Regions from separate parts of the Homo sapiens genome. Here region 2 is linked to region 1. Evidence: promoter capture Hi-C in 16 types of primary human blood cells and fetal thymus (Javierre and others, 2016). All regions are on one chromosome and are shown on one strand. Each heading gives the region's core, a stretch centred on a gene start or on the middle of the fragment in contact. The rest is flanking DNA. Distances are from core to core; before and after follow the strand shown. Region 1 holds the start of SUGT1 (SGT1 assembly cochaperone of MIS12 kinetochore complex). Region 2 holds the start of VWA8 (von Willebrand factor A domain containing 8).

Region 1 (4,905 bases), core at 1,800-4,299:
CATGCTGATGACTCAAGTCTATCTTGAGCCTAGACAGTGGTCCTGGGCAACATCAGCATATAGTTTTCTCTAAACTTTACCTGAAATGTCCCAGAGGCAACTCATATACAAATATTCACAATCTAAAACTACTTTCTATCCTCAAACCTATTCCCCCATGCTGAAGGCAATCTTCTAAGTGCTATCATCCTAAGTGCTATCTAAATGAATGGCACCAGTTCCTACAACATTCCCCCAGCCAGAAACTCAGGAGACATCCCTTATATTCTAATCGTCACCAAGTCCGGTGCATTTTACATAAAACAACTCACCTCCATGCCCTCAATCACTGCCCTACATGCAAATATTCATCTTTGACCCGGTCTGCACTACCATCTTCCTGCTATCCACTATCCCTTGTGCCTCCTCCAATTCGCTATCTACTCTGCTTTTAAAGTAGGTTTTGTAATTCAGAAAATTTCATTTTCCTTCCTCCAAATTCTTGACGGATCTCCATAATCATATGATAAAACTGAAAACCCTGTGCTGGGATTTAATGCCTTTGATGGCCTGGCCTCACTGTCGCCTGGGCTGGAGTGCAATGGCGCGATCTCAGCTCACTGTAACCTCCACCTCCAGGGTTCAAGTGATTCTCCTGCCTCAGCCTCGCAGGTAGCTGATTACGGCTGCCCACCACCATGCCCGGCTAATTTTTTGTATTTTTAATAGAGACGGGGTTTCACCATGTTGGCCAGGCTGGTCTCGAATTCCTGACCTCGTGATCCGCCTGCCTCGGCCTCCCAGAGTGCTGGGACTATAGGCGTGAGCCACCGCGCCCGGCTGCACTTCTAATGAATTGCCAGGTGATGCTGATAATGCTGGTCCAAGAGCCATACATTAAAAACCAAGGTACTAATACTAGCCACATGACTATCCTAGGCAATTCTTCTCCTAGGTACATACAACCAAAAGAAATGCATGTGTTCACCAAAATACATGTACAAGAGTATTCACAGAAGCTTTTTGTTAGCTAATAACTAGAAATAACCCAGATGTCCACTGTTAGAATAAATTGCGCCGTACTTACGGCTATACAACATATATTTATACAATGGAATATTACACAGCAATGCGAAAGAACTACTACTTCACACAATATGAATGTATACTTATGTAATCATTAAAGCAAAAAGAGTGTCTACATTCAATAAAGCACCTACTGTATGATTCTGTTTATGAGTCAAGAACAAACAAAACTAACTGATGGTGATGGAGGTCAAAGCAGGAGTCAGCAGGACAGTAAGAAGAATTACTGGCTGAGAAGGCGCATTAAGGAGCATTATGAATGGAGATACTCTGTATCTTAATCTGGTGGTGTAAACATGTGAAAACTCATCAAACTATAGACTTAAAATCTGTGTTATTTACATAAATCATATATGCCTCCATAAAAATTTTTAAAGTAAAAGAAGATGGAAAGTGACAATAAAATTCATTATGTTAATACTGTTTAAAAGCAACTTTTATATAAACTGGATTCCCAAAGGAAGCACTAGGTCTAACACGACAATAACAAATGTAAATTAAAAGTCATAGCTGTCTAGCTAATACAAGAAATTATGGAGAAAAATTCTCAGTGCTTCCTGTAACATTATCCCCAAACTCATCCCAGAAGCCTTACTCCCAGTATCTAAAGGTCTATATATTTAGGTGTAAAAAACACACCTGGACCCTAAAAGGCCTTATAGGACCTGGCTCCTAGTTTCCTGTCCAACCTCTCTTAATCAAATGGGCCCTCTAATAAAAAGGGCCTTTTTGTTGCTTCACATACAGGCCAACTTCATTCCTACCTCAAGATCTGCACTGGCTCTTGGTCCTGCCTGGAATATTCTTTCCCCAGAGCTTCCAAGTTAATTCCCTTGTTCCTTCAAATCTCCACTCAAAGATCTCCTCAACGGAGGCTCTAGTACCATGTGGCACATTTCTTATAAAAGTCATAGCTAGAAAAGACGCTGTCTTGCCTCAAATTGTTAAACGTAACAGCAAAACAGGTTTCCTCTTTTCTGTGATTTAACGCAAAAACAAACAAAAACTCCTGGCTAAATTCTGTGACCCGCAGCATCATTTATCTTTAGGTTCTCCTTTAATTCTTATTATTTAACTCTTGATCTTTTACATTCCTTTACAGCTTTATGGTTTGCCTTCATTGCACACCTACAAAAAGTGATTTCTAGGTTAGCTGAGTATATAACCAAGACTTTAACCCACAGCAATCAGCGCCTTTGCACACAGCCACTCCAAAAAAAAATTTTGATGAATATACAAATGAGTGAATAATGAATTGTGATAAGACATCTGGAAAGTTTCAGGGACGTGAGGGAAAAGGGTTTTGCTCCAGTAGACTGACTTCATACCGACACTTTTACGTAAGAATGGCAAGAATTATTGTCAAACGAAAAAATTAACTTCATCGAGCCCAGAGTCCACTTCTCTAATCATAAATGTCATTAAAAAAAAAATCCTTTCAGCCAAACTACAAATGCCAACCATGCTCCCAAGAAATAGAGGAGGTTTTTCTCAGGAGCTGTAGGGAGTGGAAAGGGCAAGACAGGAGTCTGGGGTAACGCGGCTACCGTGTAACAGAGAAAAGAGACGGAGAATCTCAATACCGGAGCTGAGACGCAGCATCAACAAGAGCCTGGGTCCCTGTCCGGCGGTGCGGGGAGAAGGCGGGTCAGCGGGGACCCGAAGTGGCCCAGCTCCCCTAAGAAGAGTGGAGGAAGCAGAAATGGGCTCTCTCACCTCTAACGCCGCCTGGGGGTCCTCGTCGATTAGGGCATCCGAGAAGCTCTGGAAAAACCTGTCAGGAAAACAACGACTTCAGCAGGGCTCACTAGCCAAGGAAAGGGGGATAAAATAAATACCAAAGGGAAAGAAAAACATGCACCTCTGGGATGTTGCAGTTCCTGCTGCAGCCGCCGCCATCCCTCGTAGTCGCTGTTGCTGCCGCCGGAGCTGCTACTATCACGGTTACCACCTCCACCACCGCCCAAGGGGGAAACTTCTGGAGAAACACCAACCGAGCTTCCGTCCTAAATAGCCAGCGAGCAGCCACGCAGCGTGCTGCTAGGGGGACGGGAGGCGACACGCCGGCGCGGGGCCGGCTGGGACAGTGGAGGACCGATTCCTCCCAGCCGCACCCCGGCCCAGGACCCGCGCTCCCAGTCCCCGCCCCTCGCAGCCATGGTTACGGAGGCCTGGGGCGTACACGTTCTTCCTCCCTTCCACCGCGCCCACGCCAGCGGGCACTCCCACGGAGCTTTCAGTAGTACTTTAGAAGCACTTTTGTAACGTACTGTCATCCCTAAGGAACGTGTGGCGGTTAGGGGCGTTTGTATGTCTGTTAATAACGGAAGCTACTTCGAGCTCCCATTTTCCCTAGTTTTTATCATGGCTGCCACAGCTAGCCAAGCCCTTTCGCCTCCATTACGTCTTTAGCGGCTGCGTGGTCTCTTCCGGGAGCAGAGGCCCGGATGACGCGTGGATCCCCGCGATCTTTGGGCTGGGGATTCTAAACGACTGGGACTTGCCGGAAGTCATTCTGCACTAATAGCGGCAAAAAGCCTTCTGGTTCCTGGGGCGACGCGCCCGGCGGCCGTACTATTCACTTCCCCAGAACGCCACAGCCCAGGCTTTCTTCTTAGTGGGCTTCCCAGACCAAGAAGGGAAACCTTTCATCCGAAGGTACTGAGGGGAGGAAGGTGGCCTGAAGTTATCTCAGTGCCGCTTTGTTTCCCACCCCAGTCGGTCAGCCCTTCCTCAGCGCCCTTTAACCCTTGCAGATCGGATGGAGAAAGCTGCCAGCACGTTCTAGGGATGGGGGCAGATTGAGGAGCGGGAGGGAGTAGTCTTTGTCTAACTTTATACCAGTACCAAACTATGTTAATTTAATGTAGTTTTATAATAAATCTTTAAGTCCTGTAACTTATTCTCCCAAGATTGTTTTGGCTTATTCTACGGCCTTTGTATTTCTAGGTGAATTTTGGAATTAGCTTGTTAAAAAGGGGGGGGATTTTTTATTGGGCTCGCATTGAATCTATAGATCTGTTTGGGAAAACTAGTATCTTAACAACAAGTCCTTCAATCCATGAATATCATTCTTCCCCCACCATTTATTTAAGCGGTCTTTAATTTCTCCTGGCAATATTTTGTAGATTGCACATATATCTATATTTTAATGCAGCTGTGCTTGGATAGATTGCAGTATAGAGATCATATATATCTTTCATTAGATTTATTCTTGAGTATTTAGTGTTTTGTATACAATGTTAAATGGCATTTTGACTTTTTTATATTCTACTCGTAAGAATAAACAATATTGATTTTAACATACTGACCTTATATGCAAGCATCTTGCTAAGTTCCCTTGTTATTTGTAATACTCTGTAGATTCTTTCGGAATTTCTGTGATCAAAATCTTGCAATCCACGAATAAAGATGGTTTAACTTCTCTGTAACCTTTATACCTTTTATTTTTATTTATTTTTGCCTTTTGTTGCTGGCTAGTGTTTCCACTATTGAATAAAAACAGTGATAATGGACTTCCTTGTCTTGGTCATAACATCAGGAGGAAAGCATTGAATATCAACTGCTTTTTCTGCCTTTATTGAAATGTTCATTTGTATTTTTTAATGTTACTGTGAATTACCTTGGTTAGTTTTCAAATGTTATCTAAATGGCCAATTGTCCTTCTGGACCCCACTGACTCCAGTTGGGATGGCACTGTAAGAAGAGAGGCAGAGTCAGTGAAGGAGACAAGGTTTATTCAGGATTTACATACAAGGGTGGTCCGGTGGTGGAGGGCTGACCTGGAGAACTGCTACCATTTGTAAAAAGCACGTAGTCTATATAGCATTTTCACTTAGC
Region 2 (4,905 bases), core at 623-3,122, about 11 Mb after region 1:
AGCCCATTGATTCACAGTATCTAGCAGGGTACTGTTTATACAGCAGTTACTCAATAAATGTTGTCGTTGGGAGGCTGAGGCAGGAGGATCACTTGAGGCCAGGAGCTTGAGACCAGCCTGGGCAACATAACAAGACTCCACTGCTACGAAAACAAAAACACAAAAATTAGCCAGGCACAGTGGTGCACGCCTGTAGTCTCAGCTACTAGGGAGGCTGAAGCAGGAGGATCACTCGAGCCCAGGAGTTCGAGGTTGCAATGAGCTATAATACTGCCGCTGCACCCCAGCCTGGGCAACAGAGTGAGACTTTGTCTCTAAAAAAAATAAAACTAGGCAAAAAATGTTGTTGAATGCTCTAACTTGTGTTGATCTCTCCATTGTCTTAACTCCAAGAGCTCTTAGTGCTTATATCAACCACTTTGCAAAATTGCCTTAGGTTGTTCTCCCATTCTTTCAGGTGTCTACTGAGTTCCAGCGAGATTAAATGGAGATATCTTGACCAAGGTATTCAATTCTTCTAGCCTCAGTTTCTTCATCTGTAAAACGGAGGATAATAATAGTACCTCAAAGCATTTTTATGTGAAATGGGATAATTCATTAAAATCTTGATACATACAATGTGCTCAAAGTAGGAAAAGCATTTTATAAGCTTACATCCTAAATTTATGTCTTAGGGTTGCTATGAGGATTAAATGAGAAGATACACATGAAACGAAGTCATAATATATTGTGTAACTACTTATTACCTTTATTTTCACTGTCTCCTCATCTAGGTTAGAAGCCTGGTTCAGCCTTCATTCCTCAAGTTCTTCCGCTGGATGCCCAAAGCCTTCCTTACCTAGCCTTGTTTGACTTTTACAGTCTCCACTCTAACACTCTCTTCTCAGCACTCATCACAGGGTCAGGCGCAGGGTAGGTGCTATGTATTTAGACAGTGGCAGCTCTAGAATTAGCAAGGTCTTTAGCTGAAAGTGAGGTCTTCTGCCTTCTTTTTGATGTTTGCTTGTATAACTTGTCTCAAATATTTTGCCTTAGTCAATTCACTGTGACATTTTGGGGATGCAGTCTAATTACATTAGGCTTAGTTTGCTTTGTGGTAGGACCATTTCCGATGTTGGAATGTACAAGAGGGAGGCAGCCTTAGCCAGTGTCCTACTTTTTCCTTTACTAAAGACATAAATCATCTTTATATAACTTTTGTATTACAGCATGACTAGAAAAGTGCTTGATCTGGATCCTTTCTGATATTTAAGCAATTTCCATCTATCACTAAGATGTGAATTTTTTCCTTAGAATTTAGGAAGCGGTAATAAAACACAGAAACAAACAACCACCACCAAAAGGACAAAGGGTAAAGCTTTCACGTACGGTTTGGAAACACTAGTGTGGTTACAATGAATCAAGACAGTTGTGAAAGTTCCCATCATCTTGTGCATGTTTTCTCCATTTCCGAAATCTGAAGCCGAATACAGGGAAAGCTCCCTATACTTACTGGGCCTTTAACTAAGAAACGAAGACTTGGGGCAAGCATCTGAAGAGTCACACCGACAAATGCTCCTAAAACCCTTGGCATTTACTGAACTCCTGAGATTCTGTGGGATCGCAGGGAAACGGCGGGTGAAGGCCTGGTGCATCCAGGTGAACAGACAGTCTCACGGACTGCGAGGCGCTTGCCAGAGCCCAGCGCCGCAGCTCGGAGCACCCCCGCGGTGCGGGCAGTCCCGGGACGGTGCCGGCTCTTTGGGCTGGAGCTCCGCAGGCTCTTTCCGCCCGTCTGGGCCATGCAGGGCCGGGTAGGGCCGGGCTGAGTCTACTGAGCCGGCCGCGCCGCGGGGGAAGGAGTTTCCGGCGGACTCGGCTAGGTGCCGCTTCCTGTCCCCTTCTCCGCGCTGCCTCACGGTGCCTGCACGGGACGCCGCTCGATCCCCGAGCCCCCTCGCCGTCCCCGACAGCCCCCCCGGCGCCATGCAATCCCGGCTTCTACTCCTCGGGGCACCCGGAGGCCACGGCGGCCCGGCCTCGCGGCGCATGCGGCTGCTCCTGCGGCAGGTGGTGCAGCGCAGGCCGGGTGGCGACAGGCAGCGGCCGGAGGTCAGACTGTTGCACGCCGGCTCGGGGGCCGACACAGGTAACTCGGGGTGCGCCCCTGTCCTCCCTGGTGCCCCTGCGCTCCGTGCCGGGTCCCCGCGCGCCCCCGCCCCTCCTCTCTGTTGCTTCGCTGCGCTTGGAAGGACCGTTTGCCGAGCGGGGAGCTGAAAGATTGAGGTTCTAGTCCCGACCTCGGCGCTAACTGCTGTGTAACGTGGGGGCAAGGCGCTCGCCCTCTCTGTGCCTGATTCTGCAACCCGAGGGGTCTGGACTAAGGTTTCTGATGACCTAGAAGAGTGATTTCTCCTTCCCCTGCCGCTGCCTTTACCCCCAGAATTCTGACTTAGGTTATAATACTCGTAGAGGTTAATGCCTCAGCCCTATGGAATTATTGAAAGCTGGATTTGACCTTGCTCTCTGAGCCTCAAGGGCCTGGAAGCCGGTCTGTGTCATGTTCTAGCCAGGGCTTGTGGCGGCTTAGAAGGGAACATTCTTGCCAAAGAACCCATAGTTCACGGTGTTTTAAATGCATCCCCGAGCCTTTCCAAGTTTTACAGGAGTTTTCCTTAAAGTTTCACGTAATTCTTAGAGCTGACAGTTACACCTTAATTTAGTTAAAACACTTGCCTCTACAAATGAGGTAATTGAAACCCAGAAGGGAAAAGTGATTCGCTGGAGAACACACAACTAATTACTATGCTAGAATCACATGCTTTGATTTCTAAGCTCAGTATTTTTTGGCTCTACTTGAGCTGGTTTTAGGAATTCTTTTTCTTGTGTGTTGGTGGAGTTAGAGTTACTGTGATGGTTAAGGAAAGGATATCTGTTGTTGCTACCCTTGAATGGTGAAGTGATTCCAGACAAGATTTTGTCAATGTCAGTGCTGCTTGGAATAACAGGTTTTCACTATGAAATTGTAGGTTTCGTTGTCCTCTTGCATTTTCCCCGCAACCCCCAGTTTTCCTTGCTAAGAAATGAGCATATGGGCCGGGCGCGGTGGCTCACGCCTGTAATCCCAGCACTTTGGGAGGCTGAGGCGGGCGGATCACGGGGTCAGGAGATCGAGACCATCCTGGCTAACACGGTGAAACCCCCGTGTCTACTAAAAAGAAAATACAGAAAAATTAGCCGGGCGTGGTGGCGGGCGCCAGTAATCCCAGCTACTCCGGAGGCTGAGGCAGAAGAATGGCGTGAACCCGGGAGGCGGAGCTTGGAGTGACCGGAGCCACTGCACTCCGGCCTGGGCGACAGAGCAAGACTCCATCTCAAAAAAAAAAAAAAAAAAAGCATATTTAGGTCCCACGTATTTCGTTTTATTCATTGAAGACATACACCACCCCCGTCCCCCACCATAGTGTTGCAATTTCAAATTTTACTTTTTGTTTTTTTTTTTTTTTTTGCTTTTTCTCAATTACTCTCACTTCTGGGCTGTTTATTCATTTGTTTTTTACATTTTTTGTGTGTTCTTTATTTGTTTTTTGCTCCTTTGCCCTAGAAGGCAGAGGTCAAAGGTGGAAGTATAGCATAAACTATAGGTTGGGTTTTGGAGTTAAACAATTTGGGTTGGAATCCACTTATCCACTATCTAACCATGGGTCGTTGAGGGTAGGTTACTTAACTTTGTGTCCTAGTTTTCTTAACTGTAAAAGGATAAGAAGAATATATCTATTATGGTTGTTGTGAGGATTTATTAATTAATATAATCTGTGGCACATATTAATGCTCAATAAAAGTTAGCTTTTTTATTCTTAGTATGTACAGTTTTAGCTATTTGAGAATTATTCTGTTTCCTTGCCTTTAGAAGACATGAAACCAAGTTTGTTTAGATTCAGGACTGTTCAGACTATCTGGGTAGGCAGATTTAGCCGAGTGAATTGACTTGAACTTTTTAAAAAACAATTGTTCTTTGTACATGGATAATACATGTTGATTGTAAAAACACATGTGGGTGTGAGTTTTTAAAGTCTGTATTATATACGTATTGGTAGATAAGTTGTAAATGTCCTCAAATTTTGTTATAGCCAGTAAATCAAAGTATAGGCTTTGCTTCAAATGTGAGAGTCATGGACATATTACAGAGAACATACTATCTTCTTTAAATCAGTCATTTACTCTGGCAGGATCAGACCAAAAAGAGGTATTTTTTGAGGGTGTGAGAACTGTAACTGAATGCAGCTGGGAACCCACCAGAGATCTGGACTTGAGTAAGAGCAGTTGTGAGCCAGGTAAATGGACAGCACACTTTTGGCTACTCTGAGGCCTGAGAGTAAGGCTATCAAGATGGAAGTGTCCCATTTTGAATCAGAGATCATACATGGACAAGTGTAAAACTACAAATAGCAATAGGCCATAATGGATTACATCTTATGTTGGGATGATGCTCTCAGCTGCATTCATACATGTGACCAGTAACTGATTATCTCCTCTCTCTGTAATTGACATTGCTTCCTAATAGTTTGAAAAAAGAACAACAAAGTTCATAAATAATATATTTAAGTTATATACTGCTGTTATTTCTCCTGGAGTATTTGTTTTGTTTATCTATATATTCGTTTGGTGCCTGCCAACACTTTGTACCTAGTAAGCATTCAGTGGCTTATTTTGTGAAAGTTCATACAGAGAAGGAGCAGGAGAGGCTGGAATTGTCGTTTGCTCTCAAGAGAGGACCTTTGTTAAGCCTGATAAGCAGAAGGAAAATAGGTCATTTATGTTAAAAACAAAACAAGCAGATAAACTCAACCCAAACCCACTGCTTTTTATCCTGTGCTGTCAGATAGTATAAGTATCTATAATTGTAAATTCTTTATATCTCTTTAT

What was found. Contacts are between HindIII fragments. The CHiCAGO score rates a contact against its expected background, and 5 or more counts as called.
Region 2: a contact is called between the fragment with the promoter of VWA8 here and the fragment with the promoter of SUGT1 in region 1, in 1 of 17 cell types (total B cells). The highest score is 6.1, in total B cells.

What each region holds. Positions count from the first base shown.
Region 1 is chr13:52,650,980-52,655,884 of GRCh38, reverse strand. It overlaps SUGT1 (SGT1 assembly cochaperone of MIS12 kinetochore complex), which reads right to left and starts at 3,049. Exons shown (of 13, transcript NM_006704.5): 1 at 2,927-3,049; 2 at 2,782-2,839. The coding sequence starts at 2,964. SUGT1-DT (SUGT1 divergent transcript) reads left to right here and starts at 3,578. Exons shown (of 1, transcript NR_170300.1): 1 at 3,578-4,580. RefSeq lists enhancers at 2,569-2,688, 2,798-3,299, 3,409-3,748 and a silencer at 3,049-3,318. The HindIII fragment of the contact is 4,517 bases long and covers 1,001-4,905 here.
Region 2 is chr13:41,958,076-41,962,980 of GRCh38, reverse strand. It overlaps VWA8 (von Willebrand factor A domain containing 8), which reads left to right and starts at 1,872. Exons shown (of 45, transcript NM_015058.2): 1 at 1,872-2,128. The coding sequence starts at 1,966. It overlaps VWA8-AS1 (VWA8 antisense RNA 1), which reads right to left and starts at 1,812. Exons shown (of 4, transcript NR_039974.1): 1 at 747-1,812. RefSeq lists a silencer at 1,793-2,202 and enhancers at 2,403-2,542, 2,638-3,138, 3,139-3,639. The HindIII fragment of the contact is 5,183 bases long and covers 1,360-4,905 here.